4 separate regions of the Homo sapiens genome follow, and regions 1, 2 and 4 are each linked to region 3. Evidence: promoter capture Hi-C in 16 types of primary human blood cells and fetal thymus (Javierre and others, 2016). All regions are on one chromosome and are shown on one strand. Each heading gives the region's core, a stretch centred on a gene start or on the middle of the fragment in contact. The rest is flanking DNA. Distances are from core to core; before and after follow the strand shown.

Region 1 (6,156 bases), core at 2,613-5,112, 240 kb after region 3:
CCAGCCTGGGTGACAGAGCAAGACTCCATCCAAAAAAAAACAAAAAAAAAAACAAAAACCAACCACCTCAGGGACCTTTGAGCACTAACTATGATTATAACGTTTACAAATGCAATTATAATAGCTAACATTTACTGAGCGTTTACTATTGCAAGGCACTATGTTAAACGTTTTTTGTTGTTGTTGTTTTTTGAGACAGAGTCTCGCTGTGTCGCCCAGGCTGGAGTGCAGTGGCGCCATCTCGGCTCACTGCAGCCTCCACCTCCCGGGTTCAAGCAGTTCTCTGCCTCAGCCTCCCGAGTAGCTGGGATTACAGGCACCCACCACGCCTGGCTAATTTTTGTATTTTTAGTAGAGACGGGGTTTCACCATCTTGGCCAGGCTGGTCTTGAACTCCTGACCTTGTGATCCACCCGCCCCGGCCTCCCAAAGTACTGGAATTACAGACATGAGCCACTGCACCCAGCCTTTATGTTAAACCTTGAATATACATCATCTCATGGGATAGATGCCATTATTATTACACACATGCCCATTTTATAAATGAGGAAACCGAGATGCAGAGAGGCCAAGAAACTGGCCCAACGTCATGCAATTAGGGAGTGGTGAGACCAGGATTTAAACCTAGGTAATTTGGTTCCAGAGCTTTAGCCACTGTGCTTTATTGCTTCATTAAGTAGATAGCTGGCTAAATTCAAAGAAACCAGATTTTTCCCAGCCTTCAGAGCTGTACAAATAAATTTCTGTTGTTTAGCCCAAATTAAAAAAAAAAGAAAAAAGAAAAAAAAAATTAACTTCCAGAATGAAAAAAGTTATAATTTTCAAACTAAATCTTCTAAGCTTATTAAAAGAAATTATCACTCACCATCTAACTTTTCTCTTTGCCAAGGAAAGGAGATACAAATAATATTTACTTTTTGCCACTTCTTAATCGTTTTTCTTTCAATTCTTCTGCCTCTGCCTCTTTGACATTCAAGTACTTCAGATAATAATACATATCACAAGATTATGAAGTATATTGGGAAGAAAAAGTGCTAGGCTAGGAGTTAGGAGATTTGGATTCTAGTTAGTATTTAAACTCAAAGTCGTATGTCCTTAAGCAAGTCATTTGATCCAAGTTTCTGTTTTCAAATTTCTATTATAAAGCTATATTTCTTACAACATTTTTTTTCTTTTTTTTTAAGACAAGTCTCATTCTGTCACCCTTGCTGGATTGCAGTGGCATGATCTCGGCTCACTGCAACCTGCACCTCCCAGGTTCAAGCTATTCCCCTGCCTCAGTCTCCCGAGTAGCTGGGATTACAGGTGCCCACCACCACACCTAGCTAATTTTTGTATTTTTAGTAGAGACGGTGTTTTGCCATGTTTGCCAGGCTGGTCTCAAACTTCTGACCTCAGGTGATCTGCCCGCTTCAGCCTTCCAAAGTGCTGGGATTACAGGCATGAGCCACTGTGCCTGGCCTCTTACAACTTTATGAATGATACAGTGATTGCTTAAGTGTATCTTGAAATATGCAGAGTTGACTTATTTTTATGATTTAATTGGGTTAATTCAGTATGTTTATCACCTCTCACATTATTTACTATTTACTTCTTACCTTGTTACCTTGTTTGTAATTGTCTTATCAATTGTATTGATAGGTCCTCTTGTACACTAGAAGTAGAACTCAACTCCAAGCAATAAGAATACTTTTAGTGGGCCGGGCGCAGTGGCTCACGCCTGTAATCCCAGCACTTTGGGAGGCCAAGGCAGGCAGATCACAAGGTCAGGAGATCAAGACCATCCTGGCTAAGATGGTGAAATCCTGTCTCTACTAAAAATACAAAAAATTAGCCGGGCATGGCAGCATGCGCCTGTAGTCCCAGCTGCTGGGGAGGCTGAGGCAGGAGAATGGCGTGAACCCGGGAGGCAGAGCTTGCAGTGAGCCAAGATTGTGCCACTGCACTCCAGCCTGGGTGACAGAGCGAGACTCCATCTCAAAAAAAAAAAAAAGAATACTTTTAGTATAAATTATGTGCTTTTGCTTCATTGAAAAATAATTGTCAGCTGGGCGTGGTGGCTCATGACTGTAATCCCAGCACTTTGGGAGGCCTAGGTGGGCAGATTGCTTGACCCCAGGAGTTCAAGACCAGCCTAGGCAACATGGCAAAACCCCAAACCTCGTCTCTACCAAAAATACAAAAATTAGCTGGGGTGGTATCTCAGTTACTCTGGAGGCTGAGGTGGGAGGATCAGTTGAGTCCAGGAGGTCGAGGCTGCAGTGAGCCATGATTGACCCACTGCACTCCAGCCTGGGCAACAGAGCAAGACCCTGGCTCAAAAAAAGAAAAAAAGAAGAAGAAGAAGAAGAGGAAGAGGAAGAAGGAAGAAGGAAGGAAGAAGGAAGAAGAAGAGAGACACTTTGGGAGGGCAAGGTGGGCGGATCACAAGGTCAGGAGTTTGAGACCAGCCTGGCCAATGTAGTGAAACCCCGTCTCTACTAAAAATACAAAAAATTAGCTGGGCATGGTGGCGGGTGCCTGTAATTCCAGCTACTTGGGAGGCTGAGGCAGGAGAATCTCTTGAACCCGGGAGGCGGAGGTTGCAGTAAGCCGAGATCGCACCACTGCCCTCCAGCCTGGGCAACAGTGTGAGACTCCATCTCAAAAAAAAAAAAGAGAGAGAAAGAGAAAGAAGAGAGAGAGAAAAAAGGAAGGAAGGAAGGAAAGAAGGAAGGACAGAAGGGAAGGAAGGAGAGAGAAAGAAAGATAATTATGATTTTTGTGTTTAGATTCTATCTGGGATTATTGATACTGTTCAGTTCAACATTTATTGAATTCTTATAACATGATGGCTGTTGCATTAGATATTGAGAAGATTAATAGGAGGTTCATTTCTTTTTTTTAAATTTTTTTTATTATACTTTAGGATACATATGCAGAATGTGCAGGTTTGTTACATATGTATACATGTGCCGTGTTGGTGTGCTGCACCCATTAACTCATCATTTACATTAGGTATATCTCCTAATGCTATCCCTCCCCCCTCCCCCTACCCCACAACAGGCCCCAGTGTGTGATGTTCCCCTTCCTGTGTCCAAGTGTTCTCATTGTTCAATTCCCATCTATGAGTGAGAACATGCGGTGTTTATAAGAGTTTGCAATCTAGTGAAGGAGACAGAGTAACTTAACAAGTGGTTTCTTATACTTGCTCTATGGGTTCCCCTATAGAGAGAGTCTTTTGAACACAGAGGACGGATCCTCTAGTCTGGGAGAATCAGGAAAGGCTTTCCAAGGAGGTTACATCTAAACCTAATTCTGAAGGATAAGTAGAATATAGTGGGAAAATGAATAATTAATATGTAAAATGATTTTTAATACTTTAAGTGTTAGAATATGGTGATCTGTAACCATAAATATCATAAAGTATTTGCTCTAATTTTCCTAAGTGATGTTGGAACAGAACAACTTCTTTTTGTTGTTGTTTTAGACTGAGTCTCCCTCTGTCGCCCAGGCTGGAGTGCAGTGACACAATCTCAGCTCACTGCAACCTCTGCCTCCCGGGTTCAAGCGATTCTCCTGCCTCAGCCTCCTGAGTAGCTGGGATTACAGGCATCCACCACCGTGCCCGGCTAATTTTTGTATTTTTAGTAGAGACGGGGTTTTACTATGCTGGCCAGGCTGGTCTCAAACTGCTGACCTCAGGTCATCTGCCTGCCTTGGCCTCCCGAAGTGCTGGGATTACAGGTGTGAGCCACCACGCCTGGCCCAGAACAACTTCTTGCTTCCAAGTTTTCTCTCCTTAGTGAAGTCTTTGTTCTCAGTGAAATGCCATTGCAGTAACAGAACCTGTTGTAACTTTCCATTGTAACCACAGCCCACTTTGCTCAGTGCCTATTCATAGCAGAAAAGATGTTCATTTTTTAGGCCAGTATCCACTTGATATTGTCATCAAAAAGGAGTAAGATTTTCTCTAAACGAGTGTCTCCCAGACTGTGCTCCACAAGATCTTTTTCTGCTGAGTATTAATAGATGTTCAAATCTTAGAGAGAGAGAGAGAGTTCTGTGGGGAAAAAAAACAGTTAGCTAAATGATGAGGTAAAGTTAACTAGGTTTATTTATTACATGACTTTTTAGATAATTTAATATGATAATATGCATTGAAATTTTAAGAGGGGAGAGAGTATGCAAGGTTTCTTTAACTTATAGAATCTTTTCTTTTTTGAAATAGTTTGGAAATATTACTCTATCTACATCAGGGTTTCTCAACCTCTTTCTCAGCACTATTGATATTTTGGACTGGGTAATTCTTTGTTGTGGGGGGCTATCTTATGCATTGTAGAATGCGTAGCTGTATCCTGGGTCCTTTCCACTAGATGCCAGCAGCACTTCTCAGGTTGTGACAACCAAAAATGTGTCCATATATTTGCCAAATGTTTCCTGGGGAACAAATTTGCCCCGGGTTGAGAACCACTGGTCTAGACTGTACATTCTTTGAAAGAAGGGGCTCTGTCTTCATTCTGAGTCCATAGTACAGGTTAGGCATGTTATAACTGAATAAATGAATAAATGTCTGTGGAATAAACTAGATCTTATGAGCAAGAAATCTCAGATTGTCCAGGTTCTAAAAATATCAAGTTATAAACGAGAAGGTCTAGCTTTATTGGTATTGTTTCACTATCGAAATTAGCAAATAAATTGATAAATAGAGCTGTGGTTTAATCTTCTCCTATATGTACAATTTATAATGATGCAGGCTAATTTGTGAGAGATTAGTAGGTCATTTCCAACTCTGGGGATGGTGGCTCCAGAGTTTAGAGATAGTTTTTAAAATGCATATAATTTTGTAAGTCTAGCTATAGAGCTTTACTAATGCTCATGCAAGATTTTATACTGTAGCCTATACTTGAGAGGAATTCATCATTCTAATTTTGATGTCCTTATGTTAAAAATAATAGCAACTTGGCAAAATATTTAGAAATCTAGAGAACCTTAGGTCGAAAGACACCCCAGATTCTTTATATTAGAGTACATACAGTGAATAATAAGATCTCAATAACTGTAGCCATCATCATCATCATCAAGAAGAAGAAGAATAAATAGCACAGCAGGCCAGGTGCGGTGGCTCACGCCTGTAATCCCAGCACTTTGGGAGGCTGAGGCAGGTGGATCACGAGGTCAGGAGTTCTAGACCAGCCTGGCCAATGTGGTGAAACCCTGTCTCTACTAAAAATACAAAAATTAGCCAGGCCTGGTGGCAGGCTCCTGTAATCCCAGCTACTGGAGAGGCTGAGGCAGGAGAATCGCTTGGAACTGGAAGGCAGAGGTTGCAGTGAGCCAAGATCAAGCCACTGCACTCCACCCTGGGTGAAAGAGCGAAACTCTGTCTCAAAAAAAAAAAAAAAAAAAAAAAGAAAGAAAGAAAGAAAAAGAAAAAAAAAATAGCACAGCAAATGTCTTTCAATCTCTTTAGGACCTCCGGCTAGCCTGTTTCAGCCACCTCGTCGTCCTGGCCTTGGAACTGTTGGAAAACCAATTCGACTGTTAGCCAATCATTTTCAGGTTCAGATTCCTAAAATAGATGTGTATCACTATGATGTGGATATTAAGCCTGAAAAACGGCCTCGTAGAGTCAACAGGTAAGGATTAGAAACAGTGGATTTCTGTATATTTAAGTGCATATAATTTATTTATGTATCATATTGTTCTCTAAATTCATCCAACATGTAGGCTTTGTTATTCTCTAAGATGATAGGTTTCTTAATAGCAGGTTTGCTGTCTCATGCTTGGTTATCCTCTGTAGGCTCTAGCAAAGTGCTGGATATATTATTAGTCAATCAGTAAACACTTATTTAATTATGGAAAAGAAAGGTCGCTCTTTCATTGACCAAGGGTAGCAAAAATTTACTAAAATAGGTGAAGACATTAGTGTCTGTGGGAAATAGAACTATCTGGAAATTCAATTTTTATTATTATATGTTGGTTTTGGACATGAGAAAGATGTATATATATATATATATCAATACAGAAGATTACTTGCAGATTTTTTCTTGGGGGAAAAGAAAGAAAAGTCATCTTGGAGTACTGAGAAAACTAAGCACAGAGAGAAGCTCTAGTTATTTCTAGCATTATCTAAGAGTGGTCCTGATGAGATGATGTAAGTATTGTGGTCTGTAT
Region 2 (5,884 bases), core at 909-3,408, 220 kb after region 3:
TAATCAATCCCAGCACTTTGGGAGGCCAAGGTGGGCAGATCACCTGAGGTCAGGAGTTCGACACCCGTCTGGCCAACATGGTGAAACCCCGTCTCTACTAAAAATACAAAAATTAGCCCGGTGTGGCGGTGCATGCCTGTAATCCCAGATACTTGGGGGAGCTGAGGCAGGTGAATGCTTGAACTTGGGAGGCAGAGGTTGTAGTGAGCTGAGATCATGCCACTACACTTCAGCCTGGGCGACAGAGTAACACACTGTGTCAAAACAAAACAAAACAAAAACCCAAAATATATTACCAATCTTCTCTCCAAGAATCTGTATCTACTAAAGTCTCCCTCATCTTAATAAATGTCAACTTATTAATAATTTTTTTTGAGACAGAGTCTCTCTCTGTCCCCTAGGCTGGAGTGTAGTGGCACAATCTTGGCTCACTGCAACTTCCGCCTCCCAGGTTCAAGCAATTCTCCTTCCTCAGCCTCCTGAGTAGCTGGGATTACAGGCACACAGCACCATACCTGGCTAATTTTTTTGTATTTTTAGTAGAGATGGGGTTTCACCATGTTGGCCAGGCTGGTCTCGAACTCCTGACCTTGTGATCCATCCACCTCGGTCTCCCAAAGTGCTGGGATTACAGGCGTGAGCCACCGCGCCCGACCAATAAATAAATATTAATAAATATCTTTCCAGTCGCTCAAGCCAAAAATGTTATGTATTAGTTTGTTCCCCTAAAAGTGTTCAAGTAATTTATTTTAGAAGTACAGGGACCACTTGAAGGAGAGTGGGAAATGACATGTGGAAGGGACAGCAGCCAATAAAGGGTGTGTTATTAAGCCAGCTACCACTGATTGACTGGATCTCAGTCCTGCAGGGAAACTCCAGGAAATAGTGTAGAACACATGCCTCAGAATTATCCCACCTGAGGGAGAGAGAGCCAGGAGTATTTATACCTCAGCTCCTGAGAATCACTGGTTGAGGGCTTCCCCCAGGCAGGATAATTTTTCAGCACTTTCAGTCTAAGGTAGGAACCGTTAGAGTGGCTTTCCTTTTGTACTTCTGGCAAAGGCCTCAGGCTCAGAAATGCAGATGTCTGGGGCACTGACAGCACTGAAATTTTTGAATTATTTTTAATGCCTCCCCTTTTCTCATACCCCATATTTGGTCTGTTATCAAATTCTACCTTCAAAATGTAGTTAGATCTATAGTGACGACCTTCACTCAGGCCACCATCAACACTGAGCTGAAGCCAAGCACTAGTTGGCCTTGTGGTCTCCCTGCTTTCACTCTTGCTCCCTGGATAGTTTCCTAGGACTGTGTAACAAAGTACCAAAAACTAGGTGGCTTAAAACAACAGAAATATATTGTCAGACCGGGTGCTGTGGCTCACACCTGTAATTCCAGCACTTTGGGAGGCCGAGGCTGGTGGATCACCTGAGGTTGGGAGTTCAAGACCAGCCTGACCAACATAGAGAAACCCTGTCTCTACTAAAAATACAAAATTAGGCCGGGCGTGGTGGCCCATGCCTGTAATCCCAGCACTTTGGAAGGCCAAGGCGGGTAGATCACGACGTTAGGAGATCGGGACCATCCTGGCAAACGTGGTGAAACTCCGTCTCTGCTAAAATTACAAAAAATTAGTTGGGCATGGTGGCGCACGCCTGTAGTCCCAGCTACTTGGGAGGGTGAGGTGAGAGGATCACTTGAGCAGGGAGATAGAGGCTGCAGTGAGCCACTGTCATGCTACTGCATTCTAGCCTAGGCAACAGAGTGAGACCCTGTCTTAAAAAATAAAATGGTAGGCTGGATGCAGTGGGTCATGCATATAATCCCAGCACTTTGGTAAGCCAAGGCGGGTGGATCACTTGAGGTCAGGAGTTCGAGACCAGCCTGGCCAACATGGTGAAACCCTATCTCTGCTGAAAATACAAAAATTAGCCAGGTATGGTGGTGGGCACCTGTAATCCCAGCTACTCGGGAGGCTCAGGCACAGGAATAGCTTGAACCTGGGAGGCGGAGGTTGCAGTGAGCCGAGATGGGACTATGAACTTTTTTAAAGTATCATTTTTGTTCTTTGTAGTTTCGATTGCTGATTGCACACCTTTTCATGCCTTCTTATGTGAATTCCCATTTTTTCTACTGCATTGTTAATCTTTTACTATGGACTTGTAGTAACTATAGTTAATTTTATGACAGTTTTTGGGAGAAGTTTTAATTTTTCGTGTAATTAATATATTAGGTTTTTTTATGGTTTCTAAATTGTAGGTCTTGTTCAAAAATACCTCTCCTTCTGCTACCCTAAACTTGAAAATATTCTATATTTTCTACTATTATTTTATTATTTTATTTTATTATTATTTTATTATTTTGTTTTTGTTTAATCAAACTGGAATTTATTCTGTATATGATATAAAGAATGACTGGAACATATAATTTTTTCCAAACGGATAACCAGTTGTCCCAACAATATTTACTATAGTCATTCTTTTCCTTTCTAATGTGAAATGCCATGTTTATCATGTACTAAAGTCCACCAGGAAAGTAGGTAGGTATGTAGGTAGGTAGCTAGCTAGATAGATGGGTAGATAGATAATCTGGATTTGGAGATTTAACTGTTTTTTTATGTTTATTTAACTTAAGCCAAAAAATTCTATTTGAGTAATTATAGCTTTATTACACATTTTGATATCTGATAGGGTTTCTCCTCCTGCTTGGTTCATATTTTTGGCTATTTTAACATTTTTTGTCAGCTTGCTTAATTTCACTTTAAAAAACACATTAATAGATTAATTTGAGGATAAATGACTTTTTTTTTTTTTTTTTTTTTTTTTTGAGACGGAGTTTCACTCTTGTTGCCCAGGCTGGAGTGCAATGGCACGATCTCTGCTCACTGCAATCTCTGCCTCCCGGGTTCAAGCGATTCTCCTGCCTCAGCCTCCGGAGTTGCTGGGATCACAGGCATGAGACATCACGCCCATCTAATTTTGTATTTTTAGTATAGACGGGATTTAGCCGTGTTTGTCAGGCTGTTCTTGAACTCCTGACCTCAGGTGATCCGCCCATCTCAGCCTCCAAAAGAGGTGAGATTACAGGCGTGAGCCACCACACCCAGCAACATCTTTAAAAGAAGTGGCTTTCTATGTGTTATTTGGGTCTTATTTATATCTTAGAGTAAAACTGCACAATTTTATTCATGGAGGATTTTCACACTCTTAATTTATTTCTTGGTTCTTTATAAATTTTGCAGCAATTATGAATTGATATTCTTTAATGACATAGTCTAATAAATTATCATTGGTCATAGGAAAGCCATTGGTGTTTTGTTGTTGTTGTTGTTTTGAGATGGAGTCTCGCTCTGTCCCCCAGGCTGGAGTGCAGTGGTGCGATCTCAGCTCACTGCAACCTCCGCCTCCCAGGGTCAAGCAATTCTCCTGCCTCAGCCTCCTGAGTAGCTGGGATTACAGGTGCCCACCACCATGCCCAACGAATTTTTGTATTTTTAGTAGAGACGGGGTTTCACCATGTTGGCCAGGCTGGTCTCGAACTTCTGACCTCAGGTGATCCACTCACCTCAACCTCTCAAAGTGCTGAGATTACAGGCGTGAGCCACCGTGCCCGGCCAAGCTATTGATTTTTATACGGTAATTTTATATGGTAATTTTATACATAATCATTGTATTAACTGTCATTCATTCTAGTAATTTTCAGTTGATTCACTTGGAGTTTTTTCTTTTCTTTTTTTTTTTTTTTTTTTTTAGACAGGGTCACTGCAGCCTCTACCTTCCAAGCTCAAACAATCCTCCTGCCTCAGCCTCCTGAGTAGCTGGGACTATAGCTGTGTGCCATCATGCCCAAGTAATTTTCTGATGTTTTGTAGAGATGGGGGTCTCACTGTTGCCCAGCCTGATATCAAACTCCTGGGCTCAAGTGATCCGCCCCTCTTGGCCCCTCAAAGTGCTGGGATTACAGGCATGAGCCACTGTACCTGGCCTCTTTTTCTTTTCCTTTCTTTTCTTTTTCTATTTGTTTTGTTGTTGGTGGTGGTGTTGTTGAGACAGGGTCTTAGTCACCTAGGATGGAGTGCAGCAGCATGATCATAGCTCACTGCAGCCTTCAACTCTTAGGCTCAAGTGGTCCTCCAGCCTCAGCCTTCTGAGTAGATCGGACTACAGGAGTGCACCACCAAGCCTGGCTAAATTTTTTAAAAAATTTTTTATAGAGACAGAGTCTTGCTGTGTTGCTCAGGCTAGTGATTTGCTTGGATTTTCTAGGTAGCATCTTTAATCTTCAAGTCCAGCTACTGGGGACTTGTATTATCTCTTTTTAAAAATATTAATACGTCTTCTTTTACTTGTCCTTAGTCAATATAATGTTGACTAGTAAAGATGAAAAATTGGTATGTGTTTCTTGTTCTTTATTTTAGTGAGGTTTGCGGTTTGCCTTTTTTTGTGTGTGCGTGAGACGGAGTCTTGGTCTGTCACCCAGGCTGGAGTGCAGTGGCGCGATCTCGGCTCACTGCAAGCTTCGCCTCCCGGGTTCACGCCATTCTCCTGCCTCAGCCTCCCGAGTAGCTGGGACTACAGGCGCCCGCCAACACGCCCGGCTACTTTTTTGTATTCTTAGTAGAGACAGGGTCTCACTGTGTTAGCCAGGATGGTCTTGATCTCCCGACCTCGTGATCTGCCCACCTCGGCCTCCCAAAGTGCTGGGATTACAGGCGTGAGCCACCGCACCCGGCCGCGGTTTGCCATTTTTATTATAACATAATTTGGAGGATTGACCCTCATTTATGAGAAACATGCATGCATTATCCAATCAAGCTGTTTACTTAGAGATGCCTCATTCAGCAGATGGCAAGACATCATGGAAGAGATATTCTAGGTCTCATACAAATGTCCTGGTCAGGTGACCAAGATGTTAACAGTTTATATGAGGTGAGTTTCATGGAGACTAAGGGGCTGCCCAAATACTTTCTCAGTTACCCCTTATACCTTGTTCTTGCATGGGTAGGACAGCTTGTGCATATTACAGTAACATGTGCAACTTAGCAGGATGTATCTGTATTTAATGTAAAATATTTAATAGAATACATTTGTATTTAACATTTAGATACTTATTTAACCCTGAATTATTGCCTTTGTGGGATTCACAGTGTAGGCATTCCCTTATGGGAGACCTCCACTACAAACATAATGTTTGCTTTTGGTTTCTGGTAGATACTTTTTATTTTGTTTTGTTTATTTACTTATTTTTTTTATTTACGTATTTTCTTTTTTTTTTTCTTGAGACAGAGTCTCAGTTTGTTGCTCAGGCTGAAGTGCAGTGGCATGATCTCAGCTCACTGCAACCTCCGCCTCCCAGGTTCAAGTGATTCTCCTGCCTCAGCCTCCAGAGTAGCTGGGATTACCGGCATGCACCACCATGCCTGGCTAACTTTTGTAATTTTAGTACAGACGGGGTTTTACCATGTTGCCCAGCCTGGTCTGAAACTCCTGGCTTCAAGTGATCCACCCACCTCGGCCTCCCAAAGTGCTGGGATTACAGGTGTGAGCTACCGCGCCCGGCCTATTTATTTACTTATTTATTTTGAGACAGCATCCGGCTCCGTCACCCAGGCTGGAGTGCAGTGGCACAATTATAGCTCATTGCAGCCTCAATCTCCTGGGCTCAAGTGATCCTTCTGCCTCAGCTTCGTGGCTGACACTACAGGCATGCACTACTAGGCCCAACTAATTTTTTTTTTTTTTTTTTTTTTTGAGATGGAGTCTTGCTCTGTCACCCAGGCTGGAGTACAGTGGAACACTTTCAGCTCACTGCTACCTCCACCTCCTGGGTTGAAGCGATTCTCCTGCCTCAGTCTCCCCAGTAGCTGGGACTACAGGCATGCACC
Region 3 (5,978 bases), core at 18-2,517:
GCAGTAGAGAATAGTGATTCTGAGCAGAGAGGGGCCAGGGGCAGATCACCCCAGCTCTGCCACTTAGCTGCTTGACCTTGGGCAAGCCATTTAACCTCTCCATGCCTCACCCCTCCCCTGAAAATGGGGATGATATGGGTATCTCTTTCATAGAGCTGCTGTGAGGGTTAAAGAACCCAATATTCGTGAAGCACTTTGCACAGAGGCTGGCACATTCTGTAATAAGTCTGCTGTGATTATTTCTACTTTGCCCTGGTCTGCACATCTTGCTTTTAAAAAACATCTTTCTTCTGCTTTCTTAATTCCTGTTCTCCTTAGCATTCCTCTCATTTGTCCATCTTTAATCCCTGTCTCTGCTTGTCAGGAGGGGAGGGTTGGGTTTGGGGAGAAAGAGAGAGTGACTACAGAGACTGGAACTTGCTTGACAGCCAGGGAGTGCCTGCCATGGTAACACAGGAACATGTAGCCTGCGCATGTTAGTGTAACAATCACACGGCATCCATGCTAGTCAGTTACACACAGTCACTCAACAGTCTCTGGGTATCTCATGCCCACACTCAATCAGCCCAGGACCCTGTGGCTTCAGAAATATCTTGGCCCCTTGTCAGGTGGAGCTCATACCCAAACCCATCCCAGGCAAGTCTCTCTCTCTGTCTGGCCAGCTTCTGTCTCCAACTCCCTCAGAGCCTGGCTTGGCTTGGAAGTTTTCAGCCCAGGAAGCCTGAGAGCGAAGTGGGCACCTTCGAGGGATTTTGATCCAGAACCATTCAGGAAAGACTGTGATGGTAGACCCCCTAAACACACGCACTGACACTGTGTGCGCATGAGCAGATAGGCTGGAGTCTTCAGCTCACAAACTTCTTCCACGTTCCCGATTACCCACCTCATCCAAAGTCTCTTGAGGTGCTTAGAGAAAGGATTGATACCTATTTTACCGAGGAAGCTGAGGCCAGCGAAGAATAGTGCTTTGCTTAAAGGCAAGGATGTGATAGAGCCAGGCAAATGTAGGGCCCTTGCGTCCCAGCCTCGAATATTTCTGTTTCACTGCAGCTGCGAGCTGCGAGCCCAGAAGGCGGCTCTGATCAATGTGGGCTGAATTCACGCCCCCTACCCACCCTACCCGATCCCGCCAAAGCCACTGCCTCCCCTGTGGCAGCCGCTGGGGAAAAGGGAGAGAACTGCCATAGCTTGTCTCTTTAATGCGCGCCCCCGGAGGCCCGGCGCGCCCCCGCCACTATAACTGGAGTGCATGGAGCAGGCTACGCTCAGAGGAGGAAGGGCGGGCGCTGGGCACCCGTTGACCGACTTTTCCAAGTGCGATCAGTGCCCGTCCGTCCTGCCTCCATGGACCCGCCCGGGAACGGCCACCGCTGAGGACCCCACGCCCACTAGGATCCCGGCTGGGTCGCACCCAGCTACCGCACCGTGACCTCCGCGGGCTGTGCCGGCTCCCGGCGCCTCTGCCCGCAGCGCTCGCCGTCGGGCTAGGGCTCCGCCGCCGCCACGCCTCGCGCCCGGCACTCACCGCCCCATGCTGGTGCACACCTACTCCGCCATGGTGAGTAGTCTCGGGCCCGGGACATATTCGGCCGGGGGATCGGGGCGCCTGAGTGCTGGACTTTCCAACCCTCCTGTCCCGCGCTAACGAAATCTCGGAGGGAGGGGGCCGCAGGGACTTCGCCAGCTGAGAACGCGATGCGCAAGTGACCGCTGTCCCCAGCCTGAGGCTCCTGCGCCCGCGGGTGGCTCGGAAATAAACCTCGGGCCCCAAGAAACGGGAGGGACTGCAGCTGAACCCTCCCGAGCTGAGGAGGATCCTTTCAGGCTGGGGTCCTTTCAGCTGCCAGTGGGTCACCTAAGGCACCCCTCTCCTTCCCCAGGAGCGCCCCGACGGGCTGGGAGCAGCTGCCGGCGGGGCCCGCCTGTCGTCTCTGCCCCAGGCGGCCTACGGGCCGGCGCCCCCGCTCTGCCACACGCCGGCCGCCACAGCTGCCGCCGAATTCCAGCCGCCCTACTTCCCGCCGCCCTACCCGCAGCCACCGCTGCCCTACGGTCAGGCGCCCGACGCCGCCGCAGCCTTTCCCCACCTGGCAGGGGACCCATATGGCGGCCTGGCGCCCCTGGCGCAGCCGCAGCCTCCTCAGGCCGCCTGGGCCGCGCCCCGCGCAGCCGCCCGCGCCCACGAGGAGCCTCCCGGCCTGCTGGCACCGCCCGCCCGCGCCCTGGGCCTTGACCCGCGCCGTGACTATGCCACTGCCGTGCCCCGGCTCCTGCACGGCCTGGCCGACGGCGCGCACGGCCTGGCAGACGCACCTCTCGGCCTTCCGGGGCTGGCGGCGGCCCCCGGTCTGGAGGACCTGCAGGTGAGACCCGAGGGATCCGGGATGGGTCGGGACTGGCCGCGGTGGTTTACTACCATGGCTGGAGGCAGAAGGTGACAAATGCAGGAAGCCGACTTTTCTCCCAGCTCGCCACATCTCACTGGTGACTCCGAGGATGTGTCCCACCTCCTGGGTTAGACGTTGCCTGGCCATCAAGGCTGCCTGGCACTGAGTCCGCCAGCAGTGCGTGGGTGGCAGCAACCCTCGGCAGGGACCGAATCACTTCTTTTCTCCCCGCTGCCACGTGTGGCATCCATGGGGCAGCCTGCACCTGGGGCGAAGAGAAGCATAATAGTTACCAGTGTAAGATTCAAAATTCCCTTTTTGCACTGCACAGTGAGATGCCCAGGGCTCCAGCTCAGTGCCTGGACATAGCGATTCCTGGGCCTGCCCGTCGCCGCCCCAAGCGAAGCTGGTGCGCCTTGGGCGGAGCAGACAGAGACCCTGGGTGGCAGGGGCTTGGGAAGACATGGGCGGCTAGGGCTTTATGCGCCCTCACCGCTGCCCTCTGCTATTTGCAGGCAATGGACGAGCCGGGAATGAGCCTCCTAGACCAGTCCGTGATCAAGAAAGGTAAGGAATGGTCTGTCAGGGCAGAGCCCGGCGAGATGGTGCAGGCCCTTGGTGCACAGATCCATTTTCTTCACCGGCCGTGCCTCCTGTGTGTCGCCAGGCTGGGTGTCCACCAGGCACTCTTCCTGGCCCAGCCAGATGTTAGGCAGACGTGCGGGCTTGGTGAGTTTGCCCAGCACCCTGTGGCCTGGGGTGGGCCTCAGCGGATCAGCATTCACTGGGCTGCAGCACTGGGAGCCTGGCCTCTCCCCGCCGAGGGGGAGGGCACTCTTGTGGATCTGGAGTTGATTTGCAGAACGAGTTAAACCACTTCCCTGTTTCCCTAAGAGATGGGAATGGAAGTGCTGTTCCCACGGAGTTGGGGAAATGATTTTCACTTTACAGTGCCTTAGCATTTCGGTGCCTGGCGGGCACTTTCTTCCTCTTCCTTCCAGGCAGGGCCTTGGAGGCCTCTGGGGGAATTTTCTTTCTGTGGGAGTCTCTTGCGGCATTTAGACTTAGGGGAGCTTGTGTGTGAGTACTGTGTGTTAGGCTGTGTGCACCTGAGTCAGGGCCCACCTGCTCCTGGGTGTCTGTGTCCATGTGAGTTCAGGGTCCTGTGCATGTCTGAAATGTTCCCTTCATGGGTGTCTTAGTATTTCTTGGAGTGTGAGTGTGTCTGTTTCTGTGAATGTGTTTGTGAGGTGTGTCTCTGTATGTTGGTGTGCATTTCTCTGCATTTGGGGGATGTACACATTTCTCAATATGTACAGTATCTCTGTTGTGTCCTGCACTTTGTTCTTTGGTATCTGAGGATTTCCAAGCATGCGCGGGCCCTCTCTGTGTATATATAGGAGTATTTATGTGACTCCTGGCATTAGTAAAATCCAGGGACACGGGATCCACCTTTTCTGGCCTGAGGACCAAGTACTGGCCATGACAGGGGAAGGTGAGAGACGACAAAAACAGAGAGACAGCCAGAGAGGAGCAGAGAGTCAGAGGGGCCCAGGCATTGGGTAGCAGCCTCTTTACATTTGGGGCAGGTGCCCGAAAGAATTCAGAGGTGCACATGAGCCTGAGGTGCCCCAGGCAGGCACTGCTCCCACAGGGTTTGGCTTGAGTTGTTTTTCAAACGAGTGAATTCAAGCCTGGGCTCTATTTGCCCTCCACTTGTTCTCAGGGGAGGCCAAGGTGGAAGTGGTGGTAGCAGGGCTGGGGCTGGACTTCCAGGAGCTGGGGCTGAGTTACCAGGAGCTGGGGGTTGGGTGGATGACTTGGAGTGTGTAGCAGGGAAGATGAGGCAACAGGGCAGGAAGTGGGTGGGGGGAGGTGGAATTGGGGCTGTGTCCTGTGTCGCTTGGAACTGGGAGTGTGGGAAAGACACTAGGAACCTGGTTGCAGCGCAGCTCTGCTGGTGGGGCTTGGTTGGCTTACTGTACAGAGCCTTTCTTGACCCCTGAAGAAAGAGATCCGTCTGCAGTGGGCAAAAGCCTGCCTGGACTTCCTGGCCACCAGAAATATGAGCATGGTGGTGGTCCCCAGTTCCCTATTCATGCTTGGGCTCAAGAGACTGGGAGTCTAGGTTCACTGACTCCCTGAGAAAGACTAAGACCCTGCATTTTAGAAAGAGGTTTGGGGATCTCTGCCCTGCGCAAGGGTAGAAGGATCAGCTGTTCCTCTGAGCACCTTAACCCGGAACCCCGGTCCGAAGCCGAGACAGGAGACTGGATGCGAGGCCCTCCCAGAGCTGGTTTCTCTCAAACAACTTCCAAAACTCCTAGATCCTAGGGGTACGCCGAAATCCCCCAAAGCAGTCCAAAGAACACAACGAGAGTCCTAACATCCCAGGTGGCGGCGCGCTGGCTCCCTGGAGCGGGGCGGGACGCGGCCGCGCGGACTCACGTGCACAACCGCGCGGGACGGGGCCACGCGGACTCACGTGCACAACCGCGGGACCCCAGCGCCAGCGGGACCCCAGCGCCAGCGGGACCCCAGCGCCAGCGGGACCCCAGCGCCAGCGGGACCCCAGCGCCAGCGGGACCCCAGCGCCAGCGGGACCCCAGCGCCAGCGGGTCTGTGGCCCAGTGGAGCGAGTGGAGCGCTGGCGACCTGAGCGGAGACTGCGCCCTGGACGCCCCAGCCTAGACGTCAAGTTACAGCCCGCGCAGCAGCAGCAAAGGGGAAGGGGCAGGAGCCGGGCACAGTTGGATCCGGAGGTCGTGACCCAGGGGAAAGCGTGGGCGGTCGACCCAGGGCAGCTGCGGCGGCGAGGCAGGTGGGCTCCTTGCTCCCTGGAGCCGCCCCTCCCCACACCTGCCCTCGGCGCCCCCAGCAGTTTTCACCTTGGCCCTCCGCGGTCACTGCGGGATTCGGCGTTGCCGCCAGCCCAGTGGGGAGTGAATTAGCGCCCTCCTTCGTCCTCGGCCCTTCCGACGGCACGAGGAACTCCTGTCCTGCCCCACAGACCTTCGGCCTCCGCCGAGTGCGGTACTGGAGCCTGCCCCGCCAGGGCCCTGGAATCAGAGAAAGTCGCTCTTTGGCCACCTGAAGCGTCGGATCCCTACAGTGCCTCCCAGCCTGGGCGGGAGCGGCGGCTGCGTCGCTGAAGGTTGGGGTCCTTGGTGCGAAAGGGAGGCAGCTGCAGCCTCAGCCCCACCCCAGAAGCGGCCTTCGCATCGCTGCGGTGGGCGTTCTCGGGCTTCGACTTCGCCAGCGCCGCGGGGCAGAGGCACCTGGAGCTCGCAGGGCCCAGACCTGGGTTGGAAAAGCTTCGCTGACTGCAGGCAAGCGTCCGGGAGGGGCGGCCAGGCGAAGCCCCGGCGCTTTACCACACACTTCCGGGTCCCATGCCAGTTGCATCCGCGGTATTGGGCAGGAAATGGCAGGGCTGAGGCCGACCCTAGGAGTATAAGGGAGCCCTCCATTTCCTGCCCACATTTGTCACCTCCAGTTTTGCAACCTATCCCAGACACACAGAAAGCAAGCAGGACTGGTGGGGAGACGGAGCTTAACAGGAATATTTTCCAGCAGTGAGCAGGGGCTGTA
Region 4 (6,064 bases), core at 661-3,160, 180 kb after region 3:
TTCTGGCGCTCCTCAAACCTTCGGAGTTTCATTGCTTCTTGCAGTTTAGCTTTTAACACCTGAAGCTTTTCACCTGAACAGAAATATGTAGAAATGCTTTAGACATAATACAATAATTAGGTATGCATTTTAGGCAACTCCAGAAATATTCTAGTCACATCCCAAAAGGAAAATCTGAGACTCTAGTATTCTGGGCTTTTTTGTTATTTGAACACAAGAGTATTATTATGAATTGAAGTATCAAAGAGAACTTCTGCACCCTAGATAGTATACTACTCAGGGATTATAAAATAATTGTTCAAAAGAGAGAAAAGGTGGGTAGGGAGTAGAGCTTCAAGTCTGTGGCTCAAAAGCCATGAAGAAAAACATTGATAAATTTACCTATATTAAAGAAAAAGAGAAACGACTCGAGTAAAATGAGCTAATGATATGAACTGGCAGTTCACGAAAAATAAACATATATTGTTAATAAATTAAAAGTAATGCTTAATCTCACTTCTAATTGAAGAGCTACAAATCAAAATAACGAGATACATTTTCGACATGTTAGCCTGGCAAAAATTAGAAGGTTTGATAATACCTATTGAGAGGAAACAGGAACTCATACACTGTGATTCAGAGTGGTACAACCATTCTGAAAGACAACTGGATGATATATATCAAAATGTGATATATATCATGACAATTCCACTGTAAGGAATTTTCATCTAATATACCACCATATATCTGGCACTATAATATAACACTGTATGCAATAGCAACAACTGGAACAAACAAGACATCTGTCAATACGAGTATGGTTTAATGAGTCATGTTGTATTCATTCAATGGAATATTATGCAGCCATTTTAAAAAAAGCCTCAAGGCCGGGCGCAGTGACTCACGCCTGTAATCCCAGCACTTTGCGGGGCCAAGGTGGGCAGATCACGAGGTCAGGAGTTCGAGACCAGCCTGGCCAACATAGCGAAACTTCATCTCTACTAAAAATACAAAAATTAGCCAGGCATGGTGGCAGGCACCTGTAATCCCAGCTATTCGGGAGGCTGAGGCAGGAGAATCACTTGAACCCAGGAGGTAGAGGTTGCAGTGAGCTAAGATCGTGCCATTGCACTCCAGCCAGGGTGACAGTGCAGGACTCTGTCTTAGAGGAAAAAAAAAAAAAAAAAAAAAAGCCTCAAAAGCAATATAAAGTAGATCTGAGCTCTGGAGTTAGGTGGTCTGGATTAGACTACTGGTCCTACCATTTATTAGCTGTGTAAACTTGAGCAAGTGTCTTAAGTGCTCTGCATATCAGTTTCTTCATATACAAAATAAGGATACTAATGTTATTTACCTCATAGGGTTGTAAGGATTAAATGAGATAAAACATATAAAGCACCTAGAGCAATGCCTGACAGGGAGTAAATGTTCAATGTCACACACATTCACAAAATACGGTATATGGATAAAAATACTCCTATAAAGACATACAAGAAATTGTTAATAGTTATCTTTGGGAAGACTAGTTTTTCATTTGATACCTTTTTTCAGTGTTTAAAACTGTTTTCCATGTGATATATTACTTGTGATTTCAAGGGAGGGGTGAGAGCTGTCCTTAATACATTTCTAAAACACAAAGCAGAATGCATGTTATGATCACATTATAGGTGGGTTGTTTTGTTTTGGGTTTTTTGTTTTGAGACAGGGTCTCACTCTCTCGCCTAGGCTGGAGTGCAGTGCCACAATCATGACTCATTACAACCTCAACCTCCTGGCTCAAATGATCCTCCTGTCTCAGCCTCCCAAGTATCTGGGGCCACAGGTGCAGGCCACCATGCCTGGATAATTTTTTTTTTTTGGTAGAGATGAGGGCTCACTATGTTGCCCAGGCTGGTCTCCAACTCCTGAGCTCAACAGATCCTCCTGCCTTGTCCTTCCAAAGTGCTAGGATTACAGGCATGTGCCACTGCACCCAGCCTGTTTTTGTTTAAATTACATATACATATGTGCAAAGAAGAGAGTTTAAAAGGATACACGATATGGTTATAGAACCTGTCTCTGATAGAAGATTAAGTTTTTCATTTATTCTATATATTTGTCTATAATGGGGTTTTTTATAATAAGACAAATGATATCTAAAAAAAAAATAAAGCCAGCTTGTCCACCCCACACCTCTAGGTGTGCTACACGTGAATCATGCCAGAGATACTGCTCTGCAAAGCCTCCAAGGAAAAAGATTCTATAACTTTTCATTATAAGGTTTTCAATAGCCTTGAAGATCTGTTAGAATACAAAGCAAAAAGCAAAAAACAAAACCTGTGGGCTCAAATACCTGGTTTTGTGTGGCTTGCTCCATCCAACTTCTTAGGTGCTAAAGTCACAGGTACCACATCTGCTTTTAGCTCTTCCTTTCCATCAGTGCCCATGTCTTTCACTATGACGTTCACATTCACTGTCTGACCAGCCCTGGGTTTGGCTGCTGGATTAGCATGCTTCCAGAAACGCTGCTTCAAGGCTTCCAGTTCTAAACCCAAACGCCAACCAGTGTGTCAGTTTGCCATGCTCAAAACTCTTTCCTTTAAGACTTATAAGCTAAGTTTTTTTTAGCTCAACAATTATGAGGGAAACCACACATACACAGAGAAACCAAAAACCCCTTGCTACTAACTCCTGAGTCAAATTCATACAACTTAACCCAAACTAATTGACTGCCACAACTGTTCTTCCTCAACGTTTCAAAAATCAGACTTTAAAAAATCAGACAGAAATTTATACCTGAAATTTCTAAATATGTGCAATTCTTTTGAACATTCTTTAAAAATTCTTTAAAAGTATTAAACTGGTAGGAAAAAAGATTATAATCTCATCTATTCAAGGGCTTAATTTTTCATGGGTTTTGGTCTCCTTTTAAAATTCCCTATTTGTTATTGCTGTTTTTTGTTTTTGTTTTGAGATGCAGTCTCACTCTATTGCCCAGGCTGGAGTGCAGTGATGTGATCTCAGCTCACTGCAACCTCCATCTCCAGGGTTCAAGCGATTCTCCTGCCTCAGTCTCCTGAGTAGCTGAGGTTACAGGTGAGCACCACCATGCCCAGCTAATTTTTTTGTATTTTTAGTAGAGACAGGGTTTCACCATGTTAGCCAGGCTGGTCTCGAACTCCTGACCTCAAATGATCAGCCCACCTTGGCCTCCCAAAGTGCTGGGATCAAATTCCCTATTTTGAATGTTTCATTATTGGCAATCTTACTAAATATAGGCAAAGTCAATTTTTTTCAAGAAGGGAAAATAAAATGACAATCCAGTCAGTGATATAACTAAGCAGCAGGACTGTAAAAAGTTTTTTGGTGAAAACTGTTACACTAGTACAATTGGTACAATGAGAAAGAAAATACTGCAGCCCCAGTACCACATGCTCAACTTGTATACAAACGGAAATATATATATACTGGGAACAGTAAGTTCAGCAATCCAATAGTGATATAAACTTACCCCTCTTCCCCACTGCAATATCTTAGAATTTCCTTCTCCCTCAGCTAGCTGTTACCTGGAACCAATCCCTACTCACTCTGCTTAACACTTCATATCATAATGGAATCTGTGATGAGAGCTGGCAGTTTTAAGGAGAAAGTTCCTTTGGAGTTGATGCACACTGGATATTTTCAGGCGGCCTTCTCGTCCATGATAAAATGGTTTATTTTTAAATGGAGTCTCGCTTTGTCGCCCAGGCTGGAGTGCAGTGGTGCAATCTTGGCTCTCACTGTAGCCTCAATCTCCCCAAGCTTAGAGGTGATCCTCTCACCTCAGCCTCCTGAGATAGCCAGGACTATAGGCATGTACCACCATATCCAGCTAATTTTTTTTTTTTTTTTTTGAGACGGAGTCTCACTCTGTTGCCCAGGCCAAAGTGCAGTGGCATGATCTCGGCTCACTGTAACCTCCACCTCCTGGGTTCAAGCAATTCTCCTGCCTCAGCCTCCCTAGAAGCTGGGATTACAGGCATGCGTCACCACACCCAGCTAATTTTTTTATTTTTATTTTTAGTAGAGATGGGGTTTCACCATGTTGGCCAGGCTGGTCTTGAACTCCTGATCTCAGATGATCCACCCACCTCGGCCTCCCAAAGTGCTGAGATTACAGGAGTGAGCCACTGCGACTGGCCGATTTTTGTATTTTTTGTAGAGACCGGTTTTGCCATGTTGTCCAGGCTGGTCTTGAACTCCTGGACTGAAATGATCCACCCTCCTCAGCCTCCCAAAGTGCTAGGGTTACAGGTGTGAGCCATTGTGCCCAGCCACTTTTCATTTGTCTTTTTAGAGACAGGGTCTTGCTCTGTTGCTCAGGCTGGAGTGCAGTGGTGCGATCACAGCTCACTGCAACCTTGACCTCCTGGGTTTAAGCATTCCTCCTACCTCACCCTCCCAAGTAGCTAGGACTACAGGTGCATGTCACCACATCTGGCTTTGTTATTTTTTGTAAAGACAGGAACTCGCTATGTTGCCCAAGCTGGTCTCAAACACCTGGCCTCAAAGCGAACTTCCCACCTTAGTCTCCCAAAGTGCTGGGACTATAGGCATGAAACTTGACTAATTTTCTAAAATGCACTCAAATCATACTTCGGTGTTTTTGTGACTAGCATCTAGATGTGTTTTTTTCCTCTAGACGGTCTTACTAGAAAAAGAGAAAAATGAAGGAAATCTTTTTATCCTGAAACCCCAACATTATTAGCAGCAAAAACCCAACTCTAAAGGATGGTATGTTTACATTGCAAACAAAAGAGTAGAGAGACAAGCTGTAAGTCTGCCTCCTATTTTGCAGTGGTTCAGTAAAGCTGAAAGCAACAGGTGGTAGCAGGGAAAAGGGAACAGAAATAGGCAGGTTATTATGGGTGCCACTAGGGTAAGAGAAATGGTTGGGTGGGAAGATTACCTGGGACTTAAAATAGTAGTCAGGCAAGAGGTATCTTCATTCATAACTGGAGAAAGCTAGGATCCTCAAAGCTCTTCCTCCCCCAACCCATTGGAGCAACCACTTTCTTTGGCCTTTATTACATGATGCAACCATCACTGTCTTCATCCTAAAACCCCTGTTCAAGTTCCTCTACCTCCATTCATCTCTATTAGTCCATCACCTCTCATCCTCCATCACCTCTCATCTCCTCTCTTAAGTGAAAAGTCTCTTTCCTAGCTTATCTCTATCAGCAGCATAAGAACTGTTCTCATTCACATTGCTCTTGTCCAGAAAGTAGAGGAATTAGAGGCAGGGATTATTCCATATGCTATTGCAAGCAACAGAAATAATGTATTTCTGACATCACAAAATTTAAATTTACATGCATTTTCTCATGGAAACCTTATTCTATATGAGGTAAAGAAACTGAGCTGTTCCCACTGTTTTTACTCTTAACCCCTTCCAATGCATCCACCACAACAGCTACCAGATTTAACTTCCTAAAGTGAGTATCTGATTGAACATTTCCTTTGCTGAAAACCTTTCAGTGGTCCTCTACTTACAAAGAGCTAAAGTCCAAGCTCCTAGCATGGCATAAAAACCCTGAATGATCTGGGCTCTGATCACCAATGTCCTTGCTATCTTCACTTCAGCCAGGGAGATCACCCTGTGCTTTCCATTGTCTCTGACATCTGCAGGTCCAACCCCTCCACCAAAAAAGCCCTCCCTCACCTCTCTGCCTTGGTATCTCTACTGAGCTCATTTCAGAAACTTCCCTGACTTCTAGGCTCCAAGTAAGGTACCCTTCCTCTAGGTTCCCAATGCACCCTCAATTATATACCTTGATCGCAGCACTTACCATCCAGTATTGTAATGGTCTGTTTGCCTGTCTATCACTCCTATTACACTTCAATTTCTTTGAGAGCAGGGAGTGTTTTACGTGTATACACAGCACCCAACACAGTGCTAAATAAAAGTTTATTGCATGAATGAATGAATGAATGTTGATTCTAACTTCATGTATATTATGGCTGGTCTGGAAACCCAAATTTCGTGTCAATTATTTCTAAAGGAAAACATGTTCCAAGTTAAAAAATAAGTGCTCATTATATGCCAGCCACTGTGTAGGTCCCTTTA

Evidence for each region. The method cuts DNA at HindIII sites, captures the fragments that hold promoters and counts their contacts. A CHiCAGO score of 5 or more calls a contact.
Region 1: a contact is called between a fragment that was not itself captured here and the fragment with the promoter of TFAP2E in region 3, in 1 of 17 cell types (non-activated CD4 T cells). The highest score is 6.3, in non-activated CD4 T cells.
Region 2: a fragment that was not itself captured here is called in contact with the fragment with the promoter of TFAP2E in region 3 in 2 of 17 cell types (endothelial precursors and M1 macrophages); the score reaches 6.7 in endothelial precursors.
Region 4: a contact is called between a fragment that was not itself captured here and the fragment with the promoter of TFAP2E in region 3, in 4 of 17 cell types (M0 macrophages, endothelial precursors, naive CD8 T cells and 1 more). The highest score is 6.1, in M0 macrophages.

Annotation. Positions count from the first base shown.
Region 1 is chr1:35,811,430-35,817,585 of GRCh38, forward strand. AGO4 (argonaute RISC component 4) reads left to right here. Exons shown (of 18, transcript NM_017629.4): 2 at 5,453-5,618. Among named protein-coding and RNA genes, the nearest start is that of AGO4, 6.5 kb to the left of the region's middle. The HindIII fragment of the contact is 6,049 bases long and covers 839-6,156 here.
Region 2 is chr1:35,788,524-35,794,407 of GRCh38, forward strand. All of the region lies in intron 2 of CLSPN-DT (CLSPN divergent transcript), which reads left to right. Among named protein-coding and RNA genes, the nearest start is that of AGO4, 17 kb to the right of the region's middle. The HindIII fragment of the contact is 4,712 bases long and covers 1-4,514 here.
Region 3 is chr1:35,572,047-35,578,024 of GRCh38, forward strand. TFAP2E (transcription factor AP-2 epsilon) reads left to right here and starts at 1,268. Exons shown (of 7, transcript NM_178548.4): 1 at 1,268-1,558; 2 at 1,881-2,363; 3 at 2,903-2,954. The coding sequence starts at 1,532. It overlaps TFAP2E-AS1 (TFAP2E antisense RNA 1), which reads right to left and starts at 5,816. Exons shown (of 3, transcript NR_183387.1): 1 at 4,620-5,816; 2 at 2,314-2,652. RefSeq lists enhancers at 1,232-1,731, 1,973-2,719, 4,417-5,269, 5,270-5,978, 5,375-5,464 and 2 more. The HindIII fragment of the contact is 6,124 bases long and covers 1-5,699 here.
Region 4 is chr1:35,751,434-35,757,497 of GRCh38, forward strand. CLSPN (claspin) reads right to left here. Exons shown (of 25, transcript NM_022111.4): 9 at 2,312-2,503; 10 at 1-73. Among named protein-coding and RNA genes, the nearest start is that of CLSPN-AS1, 15 kb to the left of the region's middle. The HindIII fragment of the contact is 3,694 bases long and covers 64-3,757 here.